Regions from separate parts of the Homo sapiens genome. Here region 1 is linked to region 2. Evidence: promoter capture Hi-C in human tissues and cell types (Jung and others, 2019). All regions are on one chromosome and are shown on one strand. The core of a region is centred on a gene start or on the middle of the fragment in contact, and the rest is flanking DNA. Distances in the headings are between cores, read along the strand shown. Region 1 overlaps USP14 (ubiquitin specific peptidase 14). Region 2 holds the start of ENOSF1 (enolase superfamily member 1).

Region 1 (3,639 bases), core at 20-2,519, 510 kb before region 2:
AGCTACTGTTTTCTTACGTGAAAATGAGAGTAACTATAGGGTTGTTTGTGGGTTTGTGCTCTTAACCATTAAGGGTGATCATATAATGTATTGTCTAAACCAGGACACTTTGGTGGAGAGTGAATGAGGGTATGTTAGTAATTATGCAATATAAACTGGGATTTTTCTGTGCAAATCAGGGCATGTAGTCGTTCTGCCATTGCACTGTCTTGCAGTTGAGGCCCTGGAATTTAAAGTAACCTAATTGGCTTTTGGCAGAGCCAGAACTAGAACTTGCTTCTTTCATTATTCAGTTAGTGCTGCTTTTCCAGTGCCATACTAAAGAATACGGACTCACATAAAATGTCAGCTTCCACTCTGCTAATAAGCCCATGGATAAAACATACGGTTTTGCTTGCTGACTTACTAATTTGGTGTGCTTTGGGGATATGTATATCTCTCGAAGGATCTCCCCATTTGAACTGATACCTTTTAATAGTTTTCAAATTATAGTTCATGTGATTCCACTTCAAAAGCACTGATAATTAGGATTGTTTATTTTATTTTATTTTATTTATTTATTTACTTATTTTGAGACGGAGTCTCTCTCTGTCACCCAAGCTGGAGTGCAGTGGCACAATCTCGGCTCACTGCAACCTCTGACTCCCAGGTTCAAGAGATTCTCCTGCCTTAGCCTCCTGAGTAGCTGGGACTACAGGTGCGTGCCACCACACCTGGCTGATTTTTGGTATTTTTGATAGAGACAGGGTTTTGTCATGTTAGCCTGGATGGTCTCAATCTCCTGACCTTGTGATCCGCCCACCTCGGCCTCCCAAAGTGCTGGGATTATAGGAATGAGCCACCGTGCCCAGCCAGGATTATTTATTTTAAAAGTTAGCTTCTTCCTAAACACAGTTGTATGAAAAATAAATGCATGAATAAAAGTTAGCCATTGCAACATCTAGATATTTGAAGAAGGGCCTGGAGGGCAGAATTTTTAAAAATCCTGGTTGATCCTCTTTGCTGTCTCCTCTAACCATGACCAATAAAGAGAAGTCTTGAAGGAAGAAAAGTCAGTGAAAAATGATGAGACATTGGAATAGGTCCTCTGTGCAGAGGCCTAGTTTGGGCAGAGGAGGTGGGTTGATAAACACTGAAGTGGGACATGGATTATGTTGATAAACAAGATGATTTGTTATCTGGGGGCTCTCATCTATAGTTTGGGATAAGGTTGGCAAGGGGAAGGGTTGTTAAAGGGCATAAGAAGAAGAGTGAGTGAGTCACGCTCTGTCTTATGATACCGAGGGGAGAGTTTTGAGCCAGTGTGGATATGAACATGGTGACTTTTAAGAGAAATTCATTTAAAAACACACAAAACTTCTTAACCCCCAGGAGCCAAATCATGTAAGGCATGGTGTGCAAGTTTCAGGATATACCAGCAAATGAAGTCTCAGTGTTAACTGGAGAGTGTGGAGTGGAGTGCTTTGGCAGGGACTCTCCAGGATGGTATTTTCTTCACAATTTTGTAAAAGTATAGGAAAACCGAACATACCCAGAAGGTCTAGATGATAGTGGATTGGTGGTAATAATAAGATTTCACCAGATATACTTTCTTGAAAAACCTGTATTCCTAGAATGTATTTATTTCCTTTATAACTTTTAAGATATTTTATCTTTTGTTCTGATAATTCTTGAGTAATTTGGCTTCGTTTCTCCACTGCTTTGCTGCTGAATAAACTTGGTTAAATGTTAAAAAGCTACTCCACAGTGATTCCTTTTGTAATATGATTAGTAATTTTAAAAAATCAGACTTTAAAATTATACAAGTGTAACATGCTTAAACATTACCAGTAGGTTATTTTAATTCTAATTTCTTTTTTGTTTGTTTTCTTAAAGCAGAGCACATAAGTAGTGCTAATTCTTTCTGTGACATTAGAAATAGTAGTGAATGTTTGTTAAATGTAGAGTATATGCCAAATATTTTACCAGGTTTTCTACATGTACTGACTGTAATTCTAACAATAACACTATAACATTGATTACCACTACCACCTTTTCCAAATGATGCCCAGAGGGATAAATACCGTTTCCACTGTTACACGGGCTGTAAGAAGCAGAAAGGTGATCATGCTGGTTAAGATATGTGCAGCAGCTAAAGGCTTTCCCACATCTGTTAGGTTAACAGAGGTTTCTGTGTTATGACTTTTTTCAAATTTAACAATAATTCATTGGTGCTGATTGGCTTTTATGCATAAAACGTAAAGAACAGGAGTTTCTTGGGCTCTCTTAATTTTCCTCTAGAGTGAATATTCTGATAATAAACAGGAATGACAGCTTTGTTATATAAAATACAATATAAAATTCTCTGAATCTAAGCATCATTTGGGGCATAGCTAAAAAAGAGCAAACAGTATTTACACTCGGAGGAATCCACAACAACGTAAATTATTTGATGCCTTGTAAGAATTGAACAGTATCTAAAAGTCTTCCCATATTGTCATCAAATTGTGTCTCAGTGGTATAAACCCATTGATGTACTGTATATTGCCTCTTAGGTAGTGCTAGTTTTTAAAAGGCTTACTGGTGTGATTCTATATTGCAGAAATAAAATTTTTAAAACTAATGTTTGGTCTTCTGTTATGTTCTTTCTTAGCGACTTCAGGAAGAAATCACCAAACAGTCTCCAACGTTGCAAAGAAATGCCTTGTATATCAAATCTGTAAGTTATGCAGTCCTTTCGAAGCCAAATTCCGCTTCACTGAAATATTTCCAGTTAATTAATTTTATCCAGTCTTAATTTTTACCACCAAATAATTAAAACTTGTATGGTATTTTGATGTAATGGGATTTCTTTACATTTTGTCTCCTCAGTCCAAGATCAGCCGGCTGCCTGCTTACTTGACCATTCAGATGGTTCGATTTTTTTATAAAGAGAAGGAATCTGTGAATGCCAAAGTTCTTAAGGTTAGTAATGAACTTTACTTTGTATAAGAAATGTAATTCTTTGAAGGTAATTGCTAACTCACAATTGCTTTCATTATTCCTTTAGGAATAGTTAAGCTTTCTTTGAAATATTTAGGGGAGCTAATATTAGACAAGTGATTCTTAACTCAGAACGTATATTAGAATTATCTATTGTCTTTTTTATTTTTAACTGTACACACACCTGGCTTCTCCCTCACCCCCAAACATCTGGGTAGGTCTTCGGTGGGGCCTAGGATATTATATTTTTCAAAAGATTCATATACAATTCTGATGGCTCTCCTGCACTACCCAGAAATAGTGCCCTAGACCACGTCCTCAGCTTCAGGGATACTGATTCAGTAGGCTTGGAGATGGGTGTGAGGTAGGGAGTGATAACTCTGCACTATACTCTAGGTGGTTTCTTTCTTTTTTTTTTTGAGACGGAGTCTCGCTCTGTCACCCAGGCTGGAGTGCAGTGGCGCTATCTTGGCTCACTGCAAGCTCTGCCTCCTGGGTTCATGCCATTCTCCAGCCTCAACCTCCCGAGTAGCTGGGACTACAGGCGCCCGCCACCGTGCCCGGCTAATTTTTTTGTATTTTTAGTAGAGATGGGGTTTCACCGTGGTCTCAATCTCCTGACCTCTTGATCCGCCCGCTTTGGCCTCCCAAAGAGTTCCTTTCTTTCAGGTGAAAGGA
Region 2 (3,325 bases), core at 520-3,019:
GATTCTATAAGCCAGTAAAATTTCCAACATTTATTTTGAGTTCCATAAAGGATTGCCTGCTGGGTGTTTAAGTTATTTACCAACATCATGTAAGAAAGGAAACATGAAGATTTTAAAGAGGATGACAGCCTGGGCCCTGTCTCTACAAAAAATACAGAAAGTAGCTGGGCATCATGGTGCACACCTGTAGTCCCAGCTACTTGGGAGGCTGAGGTGGGAGGATTGGTTGAGTCAGGGAGGTCAAGGCTGCTGTGAGCCATGATAGTACCACTGCACTCCAGCTTGGGCAACAGATAAGAGACCCTGCCTCAAAATAAATAAATAAATAAATTTAAAACATAAAATAGAATAAAATAAAAATTTAAAAATGCAGGATGAACTTAATCTCAAAAAGGACATTGTTTTGCATTTAATAACTTTAACGAGAGATCTATTTTTATAAAACATTTCAGGTACAAAAAGAGTATAGATAATGTAATGGACACCAGCTTGCCATCCACCCAATTTAGGAAGTAAAACATTACAATGGGAATTAGAGACCTCGTGGTCCCCTCCGTGACCCCATTTCCTTCCCTCCCTACTGGTAACCATTTTCCTAACATTGCCGTTCCTCACTTCCCAGCATACTTTCACACATTCACTACATACCCATACAACTCTGCTTTTCTAGCGCGGCCAATCTCATCAGTGGACTACGAGGGGCAGTGAGGACCCAGTGGGGAACAGGCTCCCTGAAAACCCTGCACAGAACCCACTGTATTTGGGAAACACCGCTCTAGACGGGGGCAGGGGAGGGAAGGCCTGACATTCTAACACCCTCAGTAAGCAAAAAAGACCTTCAATATTTAGGTAGGAGTCAGAGTTCCTGCCCTTACTTTATTACATCTCTTAAGACGAACTGACATTTGCATCAGTCCTTTCTAAGCGTGTTTGCGGGTAATTTCACGAGAGCGCCCTCTCATGTGACGCAGTTAGCACGCGCTTGGTTTCTCAACCCGACTGTGACACCTTCATTACACAGACGGGTCCAAGAGACCCAGAGAGGTCTGGAACTTCTCCAAGTCACACAGCAAGTTGTGGAAGCGGGATCACCACTCAAAACTCCCAGCCCCGGGCTTCCCGTTCTCCCTCAGCGCCAACCCCGTCGCGTTCAGGGTACAGAGGAAGCCAGCGAGCGCTGTGCTCTAGGGTTTCCACTGGCGGGAACCCAACAAAATCATTTTGCTGCTATTGCCTATTATGCATTCTACCATTTCCAGCAAAATGTGAGTCGTAAAAGTAAAACCAGGATATTCTAAACTCCAGCAAAGAAAAAACCCAGGAGAGTGGAAAGTTTCTGGATACTTATACAATTGCTCCAAGGCATGAAAAGCGAGTGTCTCCCCCAGGCGCGCCTCCCACTTTACAGAAGCAATGGGTTCGAAGTCGGGAAGCTGCCCGGGGCCCGCAGAGCTGCAGTCGGCGGGGCGGGAGGGACCCGGGCCGCAAGCCGCGCGTACCATGGCGTCCGCGCTTACCATGGCGTCCGCGCTTACCATGGCGTCCGCGCTTACCATGGCGTCCGCGCTTACCATGGCGTCCGCGCTTACCATGGCGTCCGCGCTTACCATGGCGTCCGCGCTTACCATGGCGTCCGCGCTTACCATGGCGTCCGCGCCGTGGCCCCCAAGCGACGTGGGGAAGCGCACGTCCCGGACCGAGAGCCGGGAGATCCTGCCGCGCACCATGGCCCCTGCGCCCCGTGGCCGCGGCCCCCGTGCGGTCAGGACTGGTCGGGATCCCGAGCGCGCGGCGGGAGGGCGGGAGGGCGGGAGCGCGGCAGCGCCGCGAGGCGGGGCACCGTCAGGGCATAGAGGGCGCTCATTGGCCGCGCGGCCGCACCCCGTGAACTTGGCCCCATGGGAGCTGCAGTCCCAGCTCCGGGCTCCCGGGGGCGCACTCCGCCTTCCGCCGTTCCCTTCTCAGCCTAGACGGAGCTGACCCCGAGAGGGTTCGCTCAGGGTCGCCGGGGAACCTGGGCAGGCAGGAGGCCTCGCGCCCGGTCGGCGCCTCCGCGGGACCCTGCTCTGCTCGGATGGAAGACTCGTGAAGGGACCTGCCCGGGAGCCGCGCCCTAGAGGGAGAAGTCGGGTCTGAGCGAGTGCATTCGCTCAGCGGCAGATTCCGGCCAGTGGCTCAGCTCCCAAGCCGAGGCCGCTGGTTGTCGCCAGCGTACCCAGGAGAGCGGTGCCCTAGAAAATGCTAGGTCTCTTTCAGTGCCCACAGCCTCAGTTTGCCACCTGATAAATTAAGAGGCAGGTCATCATTGATTACACCCGTACTGATGCAGATGAGGTCCCCGTACCGTGCCTCAGCCTGTAATCCCAGCACTTCGGGAGGCCGAGGCGGGCGGATCACCTGAGGTCAGGCGTTTGAAATCAGCCTGGCCAATACGGCGAAATCCCGCCTCTACTAAAAACAAAAATTAGCAGGGCGTGGTGGTGCGCGCCCGTAGTCCCGGCTACTCGGGAGGCTGAGGCAGAACTGCCTGAACCCGGGAGGTGGAGCTTGCAGTGAACTGAGATCGCGCCACTGCACTGCAGCCCGGGCGACAGAGCAAGACTCCGACTCAAAAAAAAAAAAAAAAAAAAAAAGATGCTGGGCGGCTCACGCCTGTAATCCCAGCAGTTTGGGAGGCCAAGGCGGGCAGATGGCGAGTCAGGAGATCGAGACCATCCTGGCTAACACGGTGAAACCCCGTCTCTACTAAAAATACAAAAAATTAGCCGGGCGTGGTGGCGGGCGCCTGCAGTCCCAGCTACTCGGGAGGCTGAGGCAGGAGAATCGCTTCAACCCAGGAGGCGGAGGTTGCAGTGAGCCGAGATCGCACCACTGCACTCCAGCCTGGGCGACAGAGTGAGACTGTGTCTCAAAAATAAATAAATAAAAAGAAATAAAAAGAAAATCCAAAGTAAGCAGAAGAGAAGAAATAATAAAAATTAAAGCAGAAACCTGTGAAATTGAAAACAGGAAAGCAACAAAGAAAAATCAATGAAAACAAAAGCTGGTTCTTTGAAAACATTGATAAAATCAATAAGCCTCTAACCAGGCAAGAAAAGAGAACGCAAATAACTAATATCAAAAGTGAAATAAGGAACATTACTACAGATCCGACGGACATTAAAATGATAATAAAGGAATACTATGAATTCTATGTCCACAAATTTGATAACCTGGATGAAATAAACCAATTCCTTGAAAGACACAATCTGCCAAAACTCACACGAGAAGAAATGGACAATCTGAATAGGCCTATATCTATTAAATAACTTGAATAAATAATAGC

What was found. Contacts are between HindIII fragments. The study calls those that stand out against the background at their distance.
Region 1: a contact is called between a fragment that was not itself captured here and the fragment with the promoter of ENOSF1 in region 2, in 2 of the 25 tissues and cell types used here (dorsolateral prefrontal cortex and lymphoblastoid cells).

The regions. Positions count from the first base shown.
Region 1 is chr18:200,248-203,886 of GRCh38, forward strand. USP14 (ubiquitin specific peptidase 14) reads left to right here. Exons shown (of 16, transcript NM_005151.4): 11 at 2,633-2,698; 12 at 2,851-2,943. Among named protein-coding and RNA genes, the nearest start is that of USP14, 44 kb to the left of the region's middle. The HindIII fragment of the contact is 5,497 bases long and covers 1-3,639 here.
Region 2 is chr18:710,861-714,185 of GRCh38, forward strand. It overlaps ENOSF1 (enolase superfamily member 1), which reads right to left and starts at 1,770. Exons shown (of 16, transcript NM_017512.7): 1 at 1,644-1,770. The coding sequence starts at 1,727. RefSeq lists a silencer at 1,695-2,014 and an enhancer at 1,966-2,545. The HindIII fragment of the contact is 7,627 bases long and covers 1-3,325 here.